Regions from separate parts of the Homo sapiens genome. Here region 1 is linked to region 2. The links are contacts of gene promoters, found by promoter capture Hi-C in human tissues and cell types (Jung and others, 2019). All regions are on one chromosome and are shown on one strand. The core of a region is centred on a gene start or on the middle of the fragment in contact, and the rest is flanking DNA. Distances in the headings are between cores, read along the strand shown. Region 1 overlaps TAF5 (TATA-box binding protein associated factor 5). Region 2 holds the start of CALHM3 (calcium homeostasis modulator 3).

Evidence for each region. The method cuts DNA at HindIII sites, captures the fragments that hold promoters and counts their contacts. A contact is called where the count stands out against the background at its distance.
Region 1: a contact is called between a fragment that was not itself captured here and the fragment with the promoter of CALHM3 in region 2, in 2 of the 25 tissues and cell types used here (H1 embryonic stem cells and liver).

The regions. Positions count from the first base shown.
Region 1 is chr10:103,380,628-103,385,417 of GRCh38, forward strand. It overlaps TAF5 (TATA-box binding protein associated factor 5), which reads left to right. Exons shown (of 11, transcript NM_006951.5): 6 at 1,094-1,214; 7 at 2,611-2,740; 8 at 4,699-4,790. Among named protein-coding and RNA genes, the nearest start is that of MIR1307, 11 kb to the right of the region's middle. The HindIII fragment of the contact is 4,253 bases long and covers 1-4,183 here.
Region 2 is chr10:103,476,776-103,481,179 of GRCh38, forward strand. CALHM3 (calcium homeostasis modulator 3) reads right to left here and starts at 2,465. Exons shown (of 3, transcript NM_001129742.2): 1 at 1,971-2,465. The coding sequence starts at 2,257. NEURL1-AS1 (NEURL1 antisense RNA 1) reads right to left here. Exons shown (of 4, transcript NR_120675.1): 4 at 2,828-3,222. RefSeq lists enhancers at 1-128, 129-1,023. The HindIII fragment of the contact is 15,318 bases long and covers 1-4,404 here.

The DNA.
Region 1 (4,790 bases), core at 807-3,306, 97 kb before region 2:
TTTTTGAGACAGAGTTTTGTGCTGTCACCTAGGGTGGAGTGCAGAGGTGAGATCTCAGCTCACTGCAACCTCTGCCTCCCGGGTTCAAACGATTCTTGTGCCTCAGCCTCGGCCTCCTGAATAGCTGGGATTACAGGCACCCTCCACCATGCCTGGCTAATTTTTGTATTTTTAGTAGAGACAGGATTTTGCCGTGTTGCCCAGGCTGGTCTTGAACTCCTGACCTCAAGTGATCTGGCCGCCTCAGCCTCCCAAAGTGCTGGGATTACAGGCGTGAGCCACCGTGCCCAGCCATATAAACCTTATTTTATTTTATTATTTTAATTTAATTTCATTTTTTGAGATGGAGTCTTGCTCTGACACCTAGGCTGGAGTGCGGTGGTGCAATTTTGGCTCACTGCAACCTCCGCCTCCCAGTTCAAGTGATTCTCCTGCCTCAGCCTCCTGAGTAGCTGGGATTATAGGCATGAGCCACCACGCCCAGCTAATTTTTGTATTTTCAGTAGAGAAGGGGTTTCACCAGGTTGACCAGGCTGGACTTGAATTCCTGAGCTCAGGCAATCCACCCGCCTCAGCCTCCTAAAGTGCTGTGATAACAGGCATGAACCCCCGCGCCCGGCCAAACTTAGTATTTTATTTTATTATTATTTTTTTTTTGAGATGGAGTCTCACTCTGTCGCCCAGGCTGGAGTGCAGTGGCACGATTTTGGCTCACTGCAACCTCTGCCTCCTGGGTTCAAGTGATTCTCTTGCGTCAGCCTCACAAGTAGATGGGATTACAGGTGCCCACCACCCTGCTTGGCTAATTTTGGTATTTTTAGTAGAGATGGGGTTTCACCATGTTGGCCAGGCTGGTCTTGAACTCCTAACCTCAGGTGATCCACCTGTCTCAGCCTCCCAAATTGTTGGGATTACAGGCATGAGCCAGTGCGCTTGGCCAATATTTTAAATCAAGAATTTTAAAAGTCTTTATATATTCCTTAAAATAGAGGATTGAGGAGATATTTAGTATAGTGTGAAAATGATTAACATTTGCTTCCTATCTCTAAATATCCTAAAATAGTATTGTTTAGTCTAACCCTTTTATTGGCAGGGTCTCACTGCAGTGGATGTCACTGATGATTCTAGTCTGATTGCTGGAGGTTTTGCAGATTCAACTGTCAGAGTGTGGTCGGTAACACCCAAAAAGCTTCGTAGTGTCAAACAAGCATCAGGTAACTGAGATGACCTTTTGGAATGTGAACTTGCCATTAGTCTATACCAATCTTGATTCCATGGAAAATACACAGGAGATTGTGTTCTTTACAGAAATTCACTTGATTTTACTTTAACTCAAGATTCTAACATTCCCAACAGTGAAAAAAGCTTTGGAGTGACTGGGGTGCTAGACTGGTTTAATTTCTTTAGGTCTCAGTTTTCTCATCTGTAGAATGAGTGAGTATTAAGCTAAAAAACTTAAAGTTAAAAATCTAACATTTTATGATTGCTTGTAAATCTTAAAAAATCTTTAAATAAGGGATGGTACTTCCTGTTTTAGTCATAAAAATGGCTAAAAAGAACAAATAAGGTCAGGATTTTATTTGAAAGTTTTTTACTTTTTGTTTTTTTGAGACAGAGTCTCGCCCTGTCACCCAGGCTAGAGTGCAATGGCGCAGTCTTGGCTCACTACAGCCTCTACCTCCCAGGTTCAAGGGATTTTCTTGTGTCAGCTCCCCAGCTCCCCAGTAGCTGGGATTACAGGTGCCCACCACCATGCCCAGGTAATTTTTGTATTTTTAGTAGAGATAGGGTTTCGCCATGTTGGCCAGGCTGGTCTCGAACTCCTGACCTCAAGTGATCCGCCTGTCTGGCCTCCCAAAGTGCTGGAATTATAGGTGGCTCACTGCAACCTCCACCTCCCTGGTTCAAGCGATTTTCCTGCCTCCACACCCGGCCTGAAATAAAGTTTTTTACTAACTATATTATTTAAATAAAACAATATATTTTAAATTATTTCAATATTTCCATAGGTTTTTTTTTTTTAATTTTAAATTTTTTTTAGATGGGGTCTCACTCTGTTGCCCAGGCTAGAATGCAGTGGTGTGATCACGGCTCACTGCAGCCTCTAATCCCTGGGCTGAAGTGATCCTCCCACTTCAGCCTCCTGAGTAGCTGAGACTACAGGTGTGTGCAACCACACTGGCTAATTTTTTATTTTTTGTAGAGACAGGGTTTCTCCATGTTGTCCAGGCTGGTCTCGAACTCCTCTGGGCTCAAGCAATCTGCCCGCCTTGGCCTACCAAAATTCTGAGACTACAGGTGTGAGCCACCATGCCTGGCCCATAGTTTTCATTTTGTGAAACACTGTGGCATAGTGGGCAAAACTGAGTTTCAGTTCTGGTTCCCACACTGAGTAGCTGTGTGCACTCTAGCAAATTATCTGTTCTGAACGTCATTTTCTTCTCTTACACGCTGAGATGATACTGCCTAATTTAGAGGGATTAGCAAAGTGCGGTTGGTATATAGGAGGAAATTTTCAAATGTTAATTCCTCTCCTGCACTGTGATATGATTACTTTAAAAGTTTTGATGAATGTACTTATAAAATATCAATATTTCTGGACCATTTTAGATCTTAGTCTTATAGACAAAGAATCAGATGATGTCTTAGAAAGAATCATGGATGAGAAAACAGCAAGTGAGTTGAAGATTTTGTATGGTCACAGTGGGCCTGTCTACGGAGCCAGCTTCAGTCCGGATAGGTAAAATACAAACAATAAAAATTAAATACTGCTATGTTATATTGAAATTATATAAAAGTTAACTACTGGAAACATTATGCAAATGCTGGGAAAATTCTGATAAAAATCTCATGGTTGTCTGACGTTCATCATCTTTTAGAATCTTGCCATTTGCTAATTCATCTTTGAATCCTGGTGTTTGTACATGGTAGCAATTTAATGTATACTCACTTTTTTTTTTTTTTTTTTGAGACAGAGTTTCGCTCTTGTTGCCCAGGTTGGAGTGCAATGGCGTGATCTTGGCTTACCGCAACCTCCGCCTCCTGGGTTCAAGCGATTCTCCTGGCTCAGCCTCCTGAGTAGCTGGGATTACAGGCATGCGCCACCACACCTGGCTAATTTTATTTTTTTATTAGAGATGGGGTTTCTCCATGTTGGTCAGGCTGGTCTTGAACTCTCAACCTCAGGTGATCTGCCCACCTCAGCCTCCCAAAGTGCTGGGATTACAGGCGTGAGCCACTGTGCCTGGCCTGTATACTCAAATTTATAGAATCAAAATGCACAGTTTCAGGGCTTACTGGTTTTAAAAATTAGCTTTAGTATTTCCCTTTTTTTTTTTTAATTATTTTTATTTGTTACCCAATGGTAAATAACCAACCAAAGCTTTAGTTTTATAGAACTCCATTAGGGGTTGAATTGCTTCATTGGGTCCCTGCATTGTGTCTTCTGGCTGCTTCATCAAATTTAAGACAAATTCCTGACATTAATGGCATATTAGCTAGTAATTGAGGATTAATCTTTCTATAATCAAAAGTACTAAGAGTAAATGAAAAAGGAAATTCAAAATTGGTTTGCTTCCCTTTAGGTGTATGATTACAATGTCATCCTATGTGTATAGGTATTTGCCTATTTTTCATGATCTCTAACACTGTAAAAATGGGTGGAGGGTGTTTTGTATTCATAATACCATCAGTATATTACTTGGATAGATAATAGCTTTCAGGCCGGGCACAGTGGCTCACGCCTATAATCCCAGCACTTTGGGAGTCCAAGACAGGCGCATCACCTGAGATCAGGAGTTTGAGACCAGCCTGGCCAACATGGGAAATCCTGTCTCCACTAAAAAGTACAAAAATTAGCAGGGTGTGGTGGCGCCCACCTGTAATCCTGGCTACTTGGGAGGCCGAGGCAGGAAAGTCACTTGAACATGGGAGGCAGAGGTTGCAATGAGCCGAGATTGCACCACTGCACTCCAGCCTGGGTGATAAGAGCAAAACTCCATCTCAAAAAAAGAAGAAAAGAAAAAAAGATAATAGCTTTCCATCCATCAAGGTTTCATCATTACGAAACTTTGAGAATTAGGTTTTTTGTTGCTTGATAAGGTTTTGCCAGATGATACATTTTTGAGGGAAACGTCTGATTTCAGTGAAAATTGTAATAACCTTCTGACTATCAATCTTTTGTGTTTATGCTTGAAAAAGGTAGAGAATTATTAGCATGTCTGTAGTTTTTTTTTCTTTTTCTTCAAAAGACATTTCCTTTTTAATTCTTACATAGCTTACACAGCATGGGAAAATAGCATCTTTATTTTAGGGTCAAAAATTGTTGAGTTTTAAGTGACATATCACATTTCTTAAACTTTCTCAATTGACCTTATTTGACTATACTTTGTTAATTACCCCTGCTATTTTTTTCTTGTAAAGAACTCTGATTTTCCCTAAGTTTTTGTATCATATTACCTCATTCAGTAGGTGCTCGGTATATGTAGAGTGTCAGGGTTAACATTAGTTTGGTTAGTTCTTTCAATTGATACCTACTGTGAATTGCGTGTATGAATTAAAAGTGAGATGCAGCATGTTAGGTATATTTAATATAGTCAAATATATATAAAATATTAAATGTATTCAAATGTATATAAAACTGGGCAGGTGACCAAAGGTTACTCTGGGAGTCAAATATATCACCTTCTCTTCTCTCAGGAACTATCTGCTTTCCTCTTCAGAGGACGGAACTGTTAGATTGTGGAGCCTTCAAACATTTACTTGTTTGGTGGGATATAAAGGACACAACT
Region 2 (4,404 bases), core at 1,215-3,714:
AGCAGACACTGCTGGTGCCCTGCCCATGCCAGAGGCATCTGTGGGTGCAGTGGCTGGTTCTATTCACCTGGAGGGCCTGAGGGCCTCCTACCTCAAGCATCTGCATTGTTCTGCCCCTGGGGCTTTGGAGGATTTTTTGCTCCAGAGAGGGGTAGGCTGGAAGCACTGAAAAGTTAACCCCCAAATCAACCTTCAACCCCAGAGGGATGGGGCCTTGTGGATAAATATCCCAGCTTCTTAAATCCTCAGTGGGAAAATTCTGAGATGTGTTCTATGCATGCCCTTAGGGGGTCCCCTGAAGGATTAAGCCCCAGTTGCCCACTCATTATCACATTCTTTCAGAGCCTGCTTTTGGAGGAGAGCCTAAGCTAAGACAGCCCTGCCCAGTAACCCTCCAAAAGCAGCACCTCTAACACCCCTACCCACAAGGCATCCCAGGAGCCCACCCTCTGACCGGCCTCAGGCGCCTTTCCAGATCAACTCTGCCCCTGCCTGTAGTGACCTCGACTGGGTATTGGCCACAGGACAGGAGCCCAGTGGAGCTGTGCCCACTGGACCCCAGAGGAAAAGGCCAAGGACACACCCAGTGCCTGTGACCCACCCTGCACAGCTGAATTGCAGGGAGATGTGATCCCTGAGAACATGGAACAGAGGCTGAGGGTGCACCGGATGCAGATGTTGTTTCTGAATTGGATTGTACACAAAACATCCAATGGTGTGTGCCAGGTGTGTGCGTGCATGGCCTACCCAGTGTGAGCTGTAAATATGTTCTAGGCAGTGGTGGCTTTAGCATTTTCTTTTCTTTTTTTGTCTTTTTTGAGTCTTGCTCTGTCGCACAGGCTGGAGTGCAGTGGCACGATTTCAGCTCACTGCAACCTCTGCCTCCCAGGTTCAAGCGATTCTCCTTCCTCAGCCTCCTGAGTAGCTGGGACCACAGGTGCCCAACACCACGCCCAGCTAATTTTTTATATTTTTTAGTAGAGATGGGGGTTTTGCCATGTTGGCCAGAGTGGTCTCGAACTCCTGACCTCAGGTGATCCACTCGCCTCGACCTCCCAAAGTGCTGGGATTACGGGTGAGAGCCACCGCGCCTGGCCCCCCCACCCAATCTCTGGCTCCTTATTTTCCCCCAAGGCTAGCCATAGAAACTAGAATCCATCTTCCCCAAGGTGGGTCATAGAAACCAGAACTCCTTTTCTCCAAAGCTGCCACCATAAAACCTAAAAATATGATTCTAATTTCCCCCCGCCTTTCTGTCTGAAAACTGGCCGTAAAGAAATGATCTGACCTACCTAGTTTCATTGTAGATCATAAGACTCCCTTCTAGAGAGGGTCCTGCCCCGTGTCTGGGAGAAAGGAACACTGTATAGAGAGGCCAAGAAGAACCTAGATGGCCTTGCTGAGTTTCCCCACTCCGTCTATAACATCAGTTCATCCCTTTTTTAATCCAATTCTATTTCTGCGTGGCTATCCAAACCTTGTTGAACCTAAGCATAAAAATGAACCATTTCCTCTGTATCTTTAGGTCTTTATTCTGAAGGTTCTGTGGCACATAAAACGGTAATCAAATAAATTTGTATGCCTTTTCTCTTATTAATCTGCCTTTTGTCAGTTGATTTTCAGCAGAGCTTCAGAGGGCAAAGAGGAAGTTTTCCCGCAGCCCCTAGAGTGGCCTGGGTAATTGGGAATCCTGTGTCATTCCTATGTTTACAGCACTGGCCACGGAAAGGTGACAAACGATAGGAACAGAAATATGTTTCCAGAGTGGAAACTGGCAAGTGGCTCTCTGTGAGCCGATAATTCCTAGTTGGGGAAAGGAGAGGGCGCACCTGGCAGTACCTGTAGGGTGGGTGGAGAATCCCCTGATAATGAGAATGGTTGGGGTCTGGGGGTGCACTTGACAGTGCCTGTGGGGTGGCTGGGGAGCCCCTGGCAAAGCTCATGGGTCACTGAGTGGTGTGGGACCGCACCTGATGATGCCTGGGTCCTTCCTCCGGTGCCCTGCGGGCCGGCGCCACTCCTCGACCATCACCACAGACTGCCGGTTGGCGAGGAGGCCGCAGAGAAACAGGGCGAGCGGGGGCGTCAGCAGCAGGCCCAGGCCGTAGAGTGCATTGTAGTGCACCAGGCAGGGACAGTTGAAGTCAAAGGAGGAGTACAGCTTGACGGTGACCGCAGCCAGCAGCAGGCAGATGCCATTCATCACCGACTCCGAGCTTGACTGGAAGTGCTGGAAGAGCATGCGGAATTTATCCATGGCTCCAGCCTGGGTGGGTGGGCGGCCGTCGGTTCGGCTCAGTGAGGCTCTGGCCACCTTCCTGGTGTCTGCTGTGCTGGGGACGAGCCTGGGATCTGCAAGAGGTTCTCTCTCTGCTTCCAAGGGCCTGAGGGGCCAAGGAGGAAGCAGTGCCCAGGCCCCAGCCCAGGCTCCCGGGATCCAGTAGGCACTTAAGGCAGGGACAGGCTCTCACCACAAAGGCTCCCCTGCCCAGCCCAATGGTCCCCTGGTGCCACTCCCCTCCTGTCTGGGGGAGTGAGTCACCCTCTGTGACCGGGCAGCCCAAAGCACCTCTAGGCAAATGGGCCCCGCCCTGTCACTCCATTCCTCCCGGCCCATTTCTCTTTGCTTTACGGTCTGGATGCTCAGGCTTGACAGCCGTTGGAGCTTCCTTCGGGGGACAGGCAAATTCTGGGTGTGGTGAGGAAAAGATGCTGATGGAGCCAAGGTAGTATATTTTCTGGTCTTGATCAAAAGCATGACTCTGAACTTGTCTCACAGGCATAGTAAAACAACAGCAACAACAACAACAAAATATGACGACTCAGCTCAGCCCAGGGAGATTTCATGTTGGCTTTCAGGCTAGGAGGAGCCAGAAGGGGCACCTATTCCTGACCGAAGGCTTCCTGGAAGAGGAGACCCTTGAGAGGAGTCTTCAACGATGTTTCAGCATTTGCCATGAAAGGGGTAGCGGAAGGGGATGGCCTCCCTGGGCGACGTGCTAAACATTGTGCATTAACCACTGGGTGCCCATGGGAGAGGCTGCTCAAGTGCCACGCCCACACCTGCATGGCTTTCCCCCTGCCCTTCTTCCGTGTGAGGGGCATGCGTTTGAAATCACTGCTTCTTCTCCTAACTCTCCCACATCACTAGGTCTCTCCTTGTGTCTCAGTTCCAGTCTCTCCGAAGGATGACAGCCCAGATGTTTGAGGGACCCCTGAAACCTGCAAAACGAATTTTGTAAAGGTCACTTGGCCCATATTGTAAGTCAGATCATCCCAAATAAGTCTTGCAAATTTCGTAACCATCTGTGTGGTCTGTACTTCTGATGAAGACAGACAGAAACCTGGGTCTTACTTATTATTATTATTATTATGAGATAGAGTCTTGTTCTGTCACCCAGGCTGGAGTGCAGTGGCACGATCTTGGTTCACTGCAGCCTCTGCCTCCCGGGTTCAAGTGATTCTCCTGCCTCAGCTTCCAAGTAGCTGGGATTACAGGCACCCACCACCACGCCCAGCTAATTTTTGTATTTTTAGTAGAGACAGGGGTTTTGCCATGTTGGTCAGGCCGGTCTCGAACTCCTGACCTCAGGTGATTTGGCCCCCTTGGCCTTCCAAAGTGCTGGGATTACAGGCATGAGCCACTGAGCCTGGCCACTTAGTATTTTTATTTTCCATATTTGTACGTTACTCTAGGTCCTATGAGACAGATTTCCCTGTGTGAGGGAAATGAGGCACTGGAGAAGATGGGGAGAGCCACCAGTGGCCCTGTGAGTCTGACTCTGAGCGGAGGAGAGGGCGGGGCAGGGGTGAGAAACCCTTCAAGCCAGGAGGACCACCACAACTTCAGGTGGGTACAGTCCCAGAGGGGCTGTTGGAGGTCACATACCCTGGCGGGGACAGAGCCAGGGAGGAAGCTGGGATCCTCCATCTGTGCCTTTCAGCCTTAGTCACCCACTGGGCTGCTGACCAGAAAAGGGGACTGTCCTGGCCCAAGGCCAGGCTTCGTGACCCTGAACCAGCAGGGCTGGTGTGGAGCAGGCGGGGAGCTAACTGGGCTGGGAGGGTCATGAGCACCCCTCAATCCCATTCTAGTCTCAGGGAGGGATAGAGTGTCCTAAGGGTCCCCAGCCACTCTAACCTTGAGAGTTCAGAAAACAATAGACAATGCTTCTGGAAGAACACTTTGAAGAAAACTGGGTCAAAGACTCCAGGCCAACCTTTTCACAGCTCCAGCCTCTGAGAGGTAAGACAGAGCTACCAGGTCAGCCTGGGTCCCTGGAGCCCTGCAGGGCAACAGGTGCTGAGTGACTGCAGCGGGGCTGACCCTTGCCGGGTATTTACAGGAAATACTTCAGTAAAGAAACAGGCCAGAAAGAAGCCCACCACAAAAGGGATATTATC